Regions from separate parts of the Homo sapiens genome. Here all the other regions are linked to region 1. Evidence: promoter capture Hi-C in human tissues and cell types (Jung and others, 2019). All regions are on one chromosome and are shown on one strand. Each heading gives the region's core, a stretch centred on a gene start or on the middle of the fragment in contact. The rest is flanking DNA. Distances are from core to core; before and after follow the strand shown.

Region 1 (4,104 bases), core at 1,531-4,030:
AAAATCCTTTTGGGTAGTTGTTGTTCCTCTTCCTCCTCCTCCTCCTTCCTCCTCCCTTCGTCCTCCCGGTCCTCCTCCCTCCTCCTCCTAAATCCTTTCGGGTAATTCCTCCCCCCCCCCTCCTCCTCCTAAATCCTTTTGGGTAATTCTTCCTCCTCCTCCTCCTCCTTTTCTTCTTCTTTCTGCTTCCTTCTCCTTCTTGGATCAAGGCTCTCTGCAACCTCTGCCTCCTGGGCTCACTTTATTAGCTCCACTTACTGAGATCCTGCTTACCGGGTTCCTGCACATAGTAAGTGGAAGATAACAAAACTAATATTGGATAATATTTGTCCTCCTACCTCAGCCTCCGGAGTAGCTGGGACTACAGGCACTGCGCGCCATCACATCCGGCTCATTTTTTATTTTTAGTAGATATGGGGGGTCTTGCCATGTTGCCCAGGCTGGTCTCGAACGCCTGGGCTCAGGCGATCGTCCACCTCTGCCTCCCAACATGCTGGGAGTTCGAGACCAGCCTGGCCCATATGGTGAAACCCCGTCTCTACTAAAAATACAAAAATTAGCCGGGCGTGGTGGCGCGCGCCTGTAGTCCCAGGTACTCGGGAAGCTGAAGCAGAAGAATCGCTTGAACCTTGGAGGCGGAGGTTGCAGTGAGCCGAGATGGGGTCACTGAACTCCAGCCTGGGCGACAGAGCGAGTATAGAAAAGTTCTCGTAGAACACTGTTAAACAGATGAACAACTTCAATACTTGCTCTTCTCTGCTTGATTTCATTTAGTGTGGTGAGTAAAAATTTAAATTCCAAATATTATTTACACGCAATTATATCCAGTAGAATTCCTGTTTGCTCAAATGGGAAGTCCCTAGCCGTTACTCATGTTGTCTTACGTCTGTATTGAACTCTTATTAGTTTGTAAAAGCTTTGGCAGAACTTTACAATCAGATGGTATGATTTTGCAAAGCCACTTCCTCTTACTACCACTGGTCATCTGTCATTTATTGGGCTGCCGTAAAGCAGGATTCCCCTTAAATCAAATTAAATTGGAATCACTTGAGTAAGGCTCAGGTACTAGTATATATATACATATATAGATAGATAGATAGATAGATATATTTTTTTTTTTTTTGAGACGGAGTCTCGCTGTGTCGCCCAGGCTGGAGTGCAGTGGCGCAATCTCGGCTCACTGCAAGCTCCCCCTCCCGGGGTTCACGCCATTCTCCTGCCTCAGCCTCCCGAGTCGCTGGGACTACAGGCGCCTGCAACCACGCCTGGCTAATTTTTTGTATTTTTAGTAGAGACAGGGTTTCACCGTGTTAGCCAGGATGGTCTCGATCTCCTGACCTCATGATCCGCCCGCCTGGGCCCCCAAAGTGCTGGGATTACAGGCGTGAGTCACCGCGCCCAGCCAGGCACTAGTATTTTTAAAACATTCTCCAAGTAATTTTCATGTGCAGCCAGAATTGCAACTCACCAGGCTAAACTGCAGTTGCGCAATTCTGGTCTTCTTGATACCTGATTTCTTTGCCCCTTCTCTTTTCTGGTTCAATGCATAATAAGAATTTTCCAATATTAGTTTTATTAGCTTCCACTTACTGAATTCTGCTTACGGGGGTTCCTGCTTAGTCTAGATAGTAAGCAGGAACTTACAAACTATGTAAGCTTATAGACTACATAAGCAGGAACCCTGTAAGCAAGAACTCAGTAAGTGGAAGCTAATTAAAACTACGTGCCAGGCAGGGTGCCAAGCATTTTTTGTGCATTATCTCATTTAACTTTCATAGCAACCCCGAAGTAGGTGCCATTTCTATGAAACCTGCCCAGTTACTGCCCCACTCCGCGGAATAAGCTCTTACCCACCGCTCCTCTTCTTCAATTCATTTCTGTTATGGAACTGTCGCGGCACTACAAAGTCTCTATGTAGTTATAAATAAACGTTATCTGGAAGAGCAGCCGACAACAACTTTCAAGATCTCCAATTCCCCGACCCCACACTCCAACTGACGCCTTCAACCACAACTACTGAGCCCCACTTTCAAAGCTCACTCACTAATATTGGATAATAGTTGTCTGCCTACCTCAGCCTCCGGAGTAGCTGGGACTATAGCGTCTTACTAGCCAGCTTCAGGGCTAGAATAGCCTTTCTGTGCAAGTGGAAAAAACCTCAGGTATTTCCCAAATCGGTAGCTGCAGAGGGGCTCTATCCCTACCAGAGATGGAGAAAAGCCCTCTCGCGCTTTTTATGTCAGCCAGAGCGGCTCGTTAAGAGAGCGAAGGCCAGGGGCTGCACAGGTCGCATCCCGTGAGCATGAGGTCAGAGAACCTGCCCCTGGGGCAAACCGCGAGGGGTGGGACGGGTGGGTGCAGGCGGGGCGGAGGGTAGGAGCCGCCCTAGTGGCGGCCCCTGGGAGTGTCCCGTGCCTCGCCTTAAAGGAGGGCGCCAACGCAATTTCAGTATGTGGGAGACGGGCTGCCCCACCCCCGCGCGCAAAACCCTGGTTTAGCTTAAGGGATGGAGGCGGGGACCCCTGCGCAGGCTTGCGGCGTGGGAGGCGGCCGCCCGCGACCTACGACGCCGCGCGCCGGGAGGCTGAGAGTTCGGCGCCGGGAGGGTCCCGGGGACAGAAGAGCGCCTCGCCCGGTTGCCAAGGCAACCCCACGCGGCTGGAGAAGCCGGCGCTCGCAGCCCGGCCCGGGCCGCTGCCGGAAGTGACGCGAGTTCACCTGCCGAGCGGGGGCTGGGAGGAGGGGCGGAGGGTGCAGAGGTGCCGCCGCCGCCGCGAGCCAGTCGGGAGCGCGCGAGGCGCGGGGAGCCTGGGACCAGGAGCGAGAGCCGCCTACCTGCAGCCGCCGCCCACGGCACGGCAGCCACCATGGCGCTCCTGCTGTGCTTCGTGCTCCTGTGCGGAGTAGTGGGTGAGTAGGGGCCATGGGGTCCTCAGCACCCGCCCAGCCCGGGGGCGCTCGCTGCCCGCGGCCACCCAGGAACAATGGGGCGTGGGGGAGGGGGCGGGCGCGATTTGGGGGCGCTGCTGCAGGGGCGGCGGGGCGGGCAGAATTGCACAGGGGCGCTTTTGCTGGGCCGGGCGCTCCTGGAGCCGTCCCGTAGGGAGCCGCGCAGGGCGCGCGGAGTGCCCGGGGACGGAGCCCTCGGCGGGGGGTGGAGGCGGAGGGGCTCGGGCGCGGCGTGTCGGGTGCGCCTCGCAGCTCTCCCATAGCATTCTCTGCCCCGGTGCGGGCTTGCCTTTCTTTGCTCTCGCCGTCTCCCTTGTCAGCCTTCGTGTCGGTTCTCTCCAGCGTTACCCGATTTCAAAAACCTTGGGCGGCGAGTTTTCAGGTGTCGAGTCGCCCAGGCGGGGAGGCTGAATTGCAAACGCCATTATTCAATGGACATGGAGCTGCCCGGTGCCTCGGATCGGCCAGGCTACCTCTAGGAAAGAGGCGCTGAGCGAACGCCAGCCTGGACGGTGTTAGTCTCCTGGAAGCAGCTCGCCCAGGCAGGAGCTGCTAACCAGACGCGCATTGTGAAGGAGACCGTGGAAAATCAAAAGTGGGTTCCTGCAAAAATGTAGCATTGGTTTCTGCAGTCCTTGGGCGAAGTGCAAAGGAGAATTCAGTGACCTCGTTTTTGAGTTTGTAATGAGTCGTTCATTTTGGAGATAAGACGGGCTGAGTTGTACAGGGTAATTGCTAGAGGATTTGCCAAGTGCGTTTGTCGACTGCTCCTTTCTCTGGGAGGGGAAAAAAGGCATGTGAAAAATGCGTGGACCATTAGGAGGCGTAATCATTTTGACACTTTAAAAAACGGATTTTCCATGTCGGTGTTTTAACCAACTGATCTTGTTTGTCAAACTAAGCACTTGCTGCGTTTTATAACCAAATAATTCATTTTTAAAAATCCGTAGGTGGGATCCTAGGAGGCGCACTTAGTATAGCCTCTGGAAGGGTAATTTTTTGTTGTTAGGTGCTCTGAAGCAGGATCTAGTGGCCCTTTCTGTTGGGATGGCTCTCTGCTTCCTGTTGAAATGTTAATTCCATTGTTGGATGCCACAGCTGTGAGCATTACTCATGGGATCAACATTCTATTAGCAAGTCTAATCTTCGATCTGA
Region 2 (4,414 bases), core at 37-2,536, 1.1 Mb before region 1:
ACACCTCAGATAGTCGCTTAAAACAACAACAACAAAAACAACAGTAATACCCAGCTGTTAGCCCTGCGGATGAAACAATAAATGCAAAGTTAACACTTTTTAAAGGTGAATATGTACATTTTGATGCCTCGACAGCATTCAGTAAAAATCAAGTGTGCTTAGAGATAATCTACTAAGTTGCTGATTGTTTCTGGACCTGTAACTCTTAATAAATATTGCAAATATCTAAAAGATATGGATCATTATTTAGGGGAAATGTATGTGTATGCATAAATGCAATCTTTTATAATCTAAAAATACTTTTCAGGAGCTCTTTCTGAGATGAAGAGAATTCTCAATGTCAAGATTTGAACAAGAAGAGAATGGAATACACAATATGGTAAGTGACTTGCAAAAAAGATCAATGTGACCACATTTCTAGTGCTCCATTGGGCAGTTATCACTTGTAAGTTGCATGCATAGAAAAATGCATACTTATGGTAGTCACTGTTGCAAGCAGTTCTGAAATATTAACACAGTTGATCAAAATTGTTCCACTCCTAAAAGCTTATTTTGATAAACTTGGTGTAAAAGATACTTGGCTATCACTCATGGCAGGTGATTTTACTCTAATTTTTAATTAGGGAAAATTAAGGTTGCTTATGTGATTAATGTCACGCACGTCCATGTGAAGAGACCACCAAACAGGCTTTGTGTGAGCAATAAAGCTTTTTAATCACCTGGGTGCAGGTGGGCTGAGTCTGAAAAGAGAGTGAGCAAAGTGTGGTGGGATTATCGTTAGTTCTTATAGGTTTGGGATAGGCGGTGGAGTTAGGAGCAGGGGGTAGATCTCACAAAGTACATTCTCAAGGGCAGGGAGAGTATTACAAAGTACCTTTTCAAGGGTGGGGGAATATCACAAAGTACCTTCTCAAGGGTGGGGGAATATCACAAAGTAACTTCTCAAGGGTGGGAGAATATCACAAAGTACCTTCTCAAGGGTGGGGAAATATCACAAAGTACCTTCTCAAGGGTAGGGGAATATCTCAAAGTACATTATCGCAAGGGCGGGGAGGGTGTATTGTCATAAGGTCAATTGATCAGTTAGGGTGCGGCAGGAACAGGTCACAATGGTGGAATGTCGTCAGCTAAGGCAGGACCTGGCTATTTGCACTTCTTTTGTGGATCTTCAGTTGCTTCAGGCCATCTGGATGTATACATGCAGGTCACAGGGGATATGATGGCTTAGCTTGAGCTCAGAGGCCTGACATTCCTGTCTTCTTCTGTTAATAAGAAAAACAAAACAAAATGGTGGTGAAGTGTTGGGGTGGCAAAAATTTTTGCGGGTGGTATGGAGAGATAATGGGCGATGTTTCTCAGGGCTGCTTTGAGCAGGATTAGGGGCAGTGTGGGAACCTAGAGTGGGAGTGATTAAACTGAAGAAAGATTTTGGGGTAAGGGGTGATATTGTGGGGTTGTTAGAAGCAGCATTTGTCATATAGAGTGATTAGTGATAGTCTGGATGCAGTTTTGTAGGAATTGAGAGATTAATTGGAAGACACAAGGGCCAAGTAAGAGAAAGAGAAAAACAGGTATCAAAGGACTAAGAATTGGGAGGACCCAGGACATTCAACTAGAGAGTGCCCAAGGGGGTTCAGCCTAATTATTTGCTTGTTTGATGAGTTTTTGGGCTCTATCCTTGCATTTTTTTATGTTGTCATATACCAGGCCAGACTGATTTAGGTAAAAACAACACTCTTCATTTAAAAATACACAGAGTCTTCCTTTTTCAGCAGTGAGTAAGTCAAGGCCTGTTCCTGTTTTCTTATATTAATAATAATAATAAAAAAACAAAATAGAAGTAAAGTGTTAGTGTCATGAGGGGAACAGGAAGCTGTTCGGTCCTATTTGCAAATTGATTTTGGGGGTAAGGCTAACTAGTGTACATGTGCCTGTCTAATTAATAGGTAGACACATGTAGGTGAAGGAGCCACAGAGGAGGAAGACATCTTTTTTATTATTATTATTATTATTATTATTATACTTTAAGTTTTAGGGTACATGTGCACAATGTGCAGGTTAGTTACATATGTATACGTGTGCCATGCTGCTGTGCTGCACCCATTAACTCGTCATTTAGCTTTAGGTATATCTCCTAATGCTATCCCTCCCCCTTCCCCCCACCCCACAACAGTCACCAGAGTGTGACGTTCCCCTTCCTGTGTCCATGGGTTCTCATTGTTCAAATCTCACCTATGAGTGAGAACATGCGGTGTTTGGATTTTTGTCCTTGCGATAGTTTACTGAGAATGATGATTTCCAATTTCATCCATGTCCCTATAAAGGACACGAACTTCTCATTTTTTATGGCTGCATAGTATTCCATGGTGTATATGTGCCACGTTTTCTTAATCCAGTCTATCATTGTTGGTCGTTTGGATTGGTTCCAAGTCTTTGCTATTGTGAATAGTGCAATAAACATACGTGTGCACGTGACTTTATAGCAGCATGATTTATAGTCCTTTGGGTATATACCCAGTAATGGGATGGCTGGGTCAAATGGTATTCCTAGTTCTAGATCCCTGAGGAATCGCCACACTGACTTCCACAATGGTTGAACTAGTTTACAGTCCCACCAACAGTGTAAAAGTGTTCCTATTTCTCCACAACCTCTCCAGCACCTGTTGTTTCCCGACTTTTTAATGATTGCCATTCTAACTGGTGTGAGATGGTATCTCATTGTGGTTTTGATTTGCATTTCTCTGATGGCCAGTGATGGTGAGCATTTCTTCATGTGTTTTTTGGCTGCATAAATGTCTTCGTTTGAGAAGTGTCTGTTCATGTCCAAGAAGAGAACTTTGTAAGGCAAAACTGGAAATGTAAAGTGAAAAGACAAGAGGGAGCACCAAAACAGGTGTCTTGCACCCAGACTCTTAGGGATTTAGTAAGGGCAGCAGCCGTTAGAGGTTGTAATGGGGATTGATGGAGCAACTGGGTAGAAGGGGAGGTTTGATTTTTATGGTGTATGAGAAAGTACAAAGTGTCTACGAGTAACCGTTCACTGCTATTCATGGGGCTGGGTATAAGCAAGCAAGAGGAGGGGCTAAGAGGAGAGTCCAAAGAACAAGGGGAAGGTAGCTAAGGATGGAGTGAAATGCAGGGCAAATGTCTTAAAGGAAATGAGAGGTTCTAAGAGGCGGGCTAGTGGCTTGTAACTTACATGGAAGAGGTTATGAAAAGACGAAAGAATGGACTGAGCTTGTGAGGCAGGAAGGATGAGTTTTCCATGATCTAAGAACCACTTGCCCTGAGTTGGAAAAGACTGGTAGAGCAGGTTTTCAGAAGAAGAGTAGGTGGGAGTGATAGAGGAGAAAAAAAAATACTGGCCCTCCGGAGTGGGGGCTGGAATATTAGCGGGTGTGGAGGCATTGGTTATTTTTTTTTTGCAATAAGATCAGTAGGTTTCTGGTGTCCTTTACAATGAATGATTCCAGCCTTGGCTGGCAGGAGAACAACCTTAAGGGCCTCTATTAGGGAGGCATTATTAGTGGAAGAGCTTTGTGTGGTAAGGAAGCCTCTTTTGACCCAGATGGCAGCATGGTTATGGAGGATGTGGAAAGCATATATGGAGTCAGTATAAATGTTAATGTGCATTCCTTTAGCTAGAGAGAGCACACGAGTTAAAGCAATCAGTTTGGCTTGTTGGGAAGTGGTGGAGGGAGGAAGTGCAGCAGCTTCAATAATAGAGGTGTGGGACATGACAGCATATCCAGCTTTAGCTGGTGAAAATTGATTGGGTTTAGAAGAACCGCCATCAATAAACCAAGTGTGGTCCGGGTTTGGAATGGGAAGATTAGAAATATGAGGAAAGGGAGAAGATCCTATGTGTGTTAGGGAAATACAGTCATGTGGTTCAGGACTTGTGTTGGGTGCTAAATGAGAAGCTGGGTTGAAATCAGGCCCATGGGTAATAGTTACTATTGGAGTTTCAACAAAGAGTGAATAGAGCTGGAGGAGTTGGGGGGCAGACAATAAATGTGAAAGGTATGAGGAGGATATTAATGCTTGAAGGTTGTGAGAGCTGTAAAGGGTAAGTGGAGCATAGCCTGTGATTTTTGATGGCCTCTAGAAGTATTTAAATGGCACAAACATGAGGGCCAGCCCAGAATTGTGAAGTTGAGTTGTTTGGATAGAAAGGCTATAGGGCACGGTCCCAGCTCTTGTGTAAGAATTCCGACTGCACAGTCCTGTACTTTGGTTGTGTGTAATGAAAAGGGTTGGGATGAGTTAGGGAGAGCTAGTGTGGGAGCAGCTTCTAGGGCTGTTTTTAAGGAATGGAAAGAGGAGTGGGGAAAGGATCTAGGATCTATGGGGCCAGGTAGGTTTCCTTTTGTGAGTTTATGTAATGGTTTAGTCAGGATGGCAAAATCAGGTA
Region 3 (4,423 bases), core at 19-2,518, 1.8 Mb before region 1:
TCCTGTGCTAGGAGGTGTGGTCCTAGGGCTGTGTGAACATTGGTGGGGTTTGCCATTACTTTATTTTTGTCCATCTTGGTGTTGGCTTAGGCAAACCTTAGGGTCTGCGTTTTTTTGTTGTTGTTGTTATTTTTGAGACAAAGGTCTCACCGTGTCACCCAGGCTGGAGTGCAGTGGTGCAATCTGGCTCACTGCAACCTCTGCCTCCTGGGTTCAAGTGATTGTCATGCCTCAGCATCCCACATAGCTGGGACTACAGGTACACGCCACCAGGCCTGGCTAATTTTTATGACGGGGTTTTGCCATGTTGGCCAGGCTGGTCTTGAACTCCTGACCTCAAGTGATCTTCCTGTCTCGGCCTCCTAGGGTCTGCAGTTTTGTTGTTGTTGTTGTTTTGGGGCAGAGCTTCGTTCTTGTTGCCCAGGCTGGAGTGCAGTGGTGTGATCTCAGCTCACGGCAGCCCCCACCTCCCAGGTTCAAGCGATTCTCCTGCCCCAACCTCCTGAGTAGCTGGGACTACAGGTGCCTGCCACCACACCCGTCTAATTTTTGTATTTTTACTAGAGATGGGGTTTTCCATGTTGTCCAGGCGAGTCTTGAACTCCTGACCTCAGGTGATCCACCTGCCTCAGCCTCCCAAAGTGCTGGGATTACAGGCGTGAGCCACCGCACCCCGCCGGGTCTGCCGCTTTTGAATGAAAGTAAATGCTCTTCCAAGCATTTCTTGCATGAGCAGAAGAGTGTGTAGAATTCTCTCGGTTTGCTGTCTAAAGCAAGAGGGCTGACTGACCACTTTAGGGCCACGGCCTCCATCCCCGCCACTTCCCCTCCCTTCCCCTCCCTTCCCACTCCTTCTTTTCCTGAGTGCTGATGTTGTTCTGCCTTAAGCTTCTAAGCAGGGGCATCTTTTATGGTCGGGGGGAGGGAGGTGTGGGAGGCAGGCAGGGGATGTTGCAGGAGAGCTACTGATAACCCAGGGCCTCTGTCTTTTCCTTATTGACCATTTTTATGTCTTCTTTTTAACATGTTAAGATTATTTCCCAATTTCTTAGTTGGGTTATCTTCTTGCTGTTGAGTTGTAGGAATTCTTTATATTTTGGTTGTCTTTTATCATGTATATGTAATTACAAATACTTTCTCCCAATGTGTGGCTTGTATTTGCATTTTCTTAACAGTTTCTTTGAAGTTGAAGTATTTTAATATTGATTGTTTAATTTACTTTTATGGTTAGTACTTTAACCATTTTCTTTTTCTTTTTCTTTTCTTTTTTTTTTTTTTTTTTTGTGACGGAATTTCACTCTTATTGCCCAGGCTGGAGTGCAATGGCATGATCTCACTCACTGCAGCCTCCGCCTCCCTGGGTTCAAGCGATTCTTCTGCCTCAGCCTCCTGAGTAGCTGGGATTACAGGCATGCACCACCACGCTCAGCTAATTTTTGTATTTTTAGTAGAGACAGGGTTTCACCATGTTGGCCAGCCTGGTCTCGAACTCGCGACCTCAGGTGATCCGCCCGCCTCGGTCTCCCAAAGTGCTGGGATTACAGGCGTGAGCCACCACGCCCGGCTGCTTTAACCATTTTCTTGAAACTTAGTTTGTAAATTTTTTCTCCCTGTGTTTTGTTCTAGAAGTTTTGCCATTTTAGGTTTACGATCCATTTGGAATTCATTTCTGTGTGTGTTCTGAGGTGTCACTAAGTCAAGGTTCATTTATTGCATGTGGAATCTAGTCCCAGCACCTACTTTTGAAAAAGCTGTCCTTTCATCATTGAATTATATTGGTACCTTTATGGAAAATTAATTGATCATGTATGAGTGGGTTTATTTTTGAACTCAGTTCCTTTCTATCCTTATGTGGTGCCGTTCTTTCTTGATTACTGTGGCTTTGAAATGTGCCTTGAAGTGGGTGAATGTAAATTCTTCAACTTTGTTCTTGTTAGAAATTTGTTTTGGCTATTCTAGAATTTTTTGTATTTCCATATACAATTCTGAGGTACTTTGAACAGTTGGACAAAGAGCCTTCTGGGGTTTCTGAGTAGGATTGTGTTGGATGTATGGATTCTTTCTGACTGTTTGGACATCTTTACAGTATTTTAGCCTTTCAATCCAAGAACACATATATTTCTCCATTTATTTAGGTTTTGTTTTTTAACGGTTTAAAGGTCTTTGCATATCTTTTGTTACAGTTGACTTTTTTGATGCTATTGTAAGTGGTATTTTTTATTTTTATTTTTATTTTTTTTGAGACGCAGTCTCACTTTCACTGCAACCGCCGCCTCCCAGGTTCAAGCGATTCTCCTGCCTCAGCCTCCCTAGTAGCTGGGACTACAGGTGTGTGCCACCACACCCGGCTAATTTTTTGTATTTTTAGTAGAGATGGAGTTTCACTGTGTTATAGCCAGGATAGTCTTGATCTCTGGACAGCATGATCCACCAGCCTCGGCCTCCCAAAGTGCTGGGATTACAGTTGTGAGCCACTGCACCCTGCCAGTGGTTTTTAGTTTTTATTCCAATTGTTTTTTGCTGGTATATAGAATGTGGTTGATTTTTCTGTATGAAGCTTGTATCTGCGACTTTGCGAAATTCACTTATTCTAATAAATGTATTTACCACTTTTATTCATTTTAAAAATTGTGCTTTTTGGGGTATTCTCTAAAATGTTTAATAGAAGTGGTAATGACAGACATCTTTGTCTTGTTCCCGATTTTGTATGGAAAGCAGTCTTTTACTACTAAGTATGGTTTTAGTTGTTGCACTTCTTATTTTGTTAAAAATGTGTTATTGTTAATTTATACTTCTAGATATACTACAGCTTAACCATTCTACAGTTAAACTATTTGTTTATATATCTTTTTATATATTTATGGTCCACTGTGATTCTTTTCTGTGAAATTGACATTTGTTTCTCTTGCCTGTTTTTTCTTTTGGGCTATTTATCTTTTTCTTTATGATTTGAGGTAGTTCTTTATGGTTTAGATACTACTTTTGTTTTTCTATTTACAATAGTCCACGTTTACTCTCATGGAATGTGTTCCAAGACCCCCAGTGGATGCCTGAAACTGTGGCTAGTATTGAACCATTTATAGAGTATATTTTGAAAGAGACTACATTCACATAACATACTGTATATGTTTTCAAAATATTTGAAATAGTATACCATATATAGTATGGTTCAGTACTATATAGAATATAGTATATATAGTTTTTTCTTATCTATATATACCTGTGATAAAGTTTAATTTATAAATTAGGCACTATATAACTATATAGTACATATAGTTTTTTTCCTATATATAGTATCTACCTGTGATAAAGTTTAATTTATAAATTAGGTAATTTATAAATTAGTAGAGACTAACAACAATAACTAGTAATGAAATAGAACAACTATGATAATATAATGTTGTGTGAATGTAGTCTTTTTCAAAATATCCGATAACTGAGATGGCTGCTGACTACTAAGTGGGTAGTATACACAGTGTGGATATGTTGGACAAAGGGAAGATTCATGTTGTGGGTGGCATGGAGTGAGATTTCATTATGCACAGCACTCAGTCAGAATAGTGCACAATTTAAAACATCGTTTCTGGAACTTTTCATATTTTTGGACTACGCTTGATCATTGGTAACTGAAACTTCAAAAAGTGAAACGAGATAAGGGGAAACTACTGTATATGTTTTGCAAATATTTTCTGTTTTCACGATGTCTTTTTATTCTCTTTATGTACTTTCATGAGTAGACATTTTTATTTTTAATTTAGTTTCATGTATAATTAGCTTCCTTTAATATTTGAACTTCCATGTCCTGTTTCACAAAGATAGTCTCATTTATTGCCCTCTAAGTGTTTTCTTAATTTGTCTTCATGCAGGGTTTAAGTTTCATTCCACTTGGGTTTGATTTTTGCATGTTGTTTGAGTAGATGTCAGAATTTTTCCCCTCTGGAGAACCAGCGACTTTATTGAACAGTTCCTCCTTCCCATTAATACTCTGCCTGACAACAGTATGTATACTTTTTAAATTCTTCAGTTGGGACCATTGTAAAGAAAAACAGGTGTCAGGAACTTTCGCCCTTGAATTAAAAAATATATTTTTGAGACAGAGTCTTGCTCTCTTGCCCAGGCTGGAGTGCAGTGGCATAATCATAGCCTGCTTCAGCCTCAAACTCCTGGACCCACACTATCCTCCCTCCTCAGCCTCCCAAGTAGCTGGGACTACAGGTGTGTACCATCCACCCAGCTACTTTTTAGTTTTTTTTTTTTTTTTTTTTTTTTTTGTAGAGATGGGGTCTCGCTCTGTTTCCCAGGCTGGTCTTGAATTCCTGGTGTTAAGCAAACCTTTCACTTTGGCCTTCCAAAGCATTGGCATTACAGGCATGAGCCACTGTGCTCAGCCAAATTAAAATATTTTTATTATGGTTTTACTGAA

What was found. Contacts are between HindIII fragments. The study calls those that stand out against the background at their distance.
Region 2: a contact is called between a fragment that was not itself captured here and the fragment with the promoter of CXADR in region 1, in 1 of the 25 tissues and cell types used here (lymphoblastoid cells).
Region 3: a contact is called between a fragment that was not itself captured here and the fragment with the promoter of CXADR in region 1, in 1 of the 25 tissues and cell types used here (dorsolateral prefrontal cortex).

The regions. Positions count from the first base shown.
Region 1 is chr21:17,510,263-17,514,366 of GRCh38, forward strand. CXADR (CXADR cell adhesion molecule) reads left to right here and starts at 2,781. Exons shown (of 7, transcript NM_001338.5): 1 at 2,781-2,910. The coding sequence starts at 2,868. RefSeq lists silencers at 2,232-2,351, 2,412-2,951. The HindIII fragment of the contact is 6,448 bases long and covers 1,287-4,104 here.
Region 2 is chr21:16,391,307-16,395,720 of GRCh38, forward strand. It overlaps MIR99AHG (mir-99a-let-7c cluster host gene), which reads left to right. Exons shown (of 10, transcript NR_136541.1): 5 at 308-379. Among named protein-coding and RNA genes, the nearest start is that of SNORD74B, 110 kb to the left of the region's middle. The HindIII fragment of the contact is 4,617 bases long and covers 1-3,595 here.
Region 3 is chr21:15,744,210-15,748,632 of GRCh38, forward strand. The region is part of intron 1 of USP25 (ubiquitin specific peptidase 25); the gene reads left to right. It also overlaps the pseudogene RBPMSLP. Among named protein-coding and RNA genes, the nearest start is that of USP25, 16 kb to the left of the region's middle. The HindIII fragment of the contact is 4,683 bases long and covers 1-3,610 here.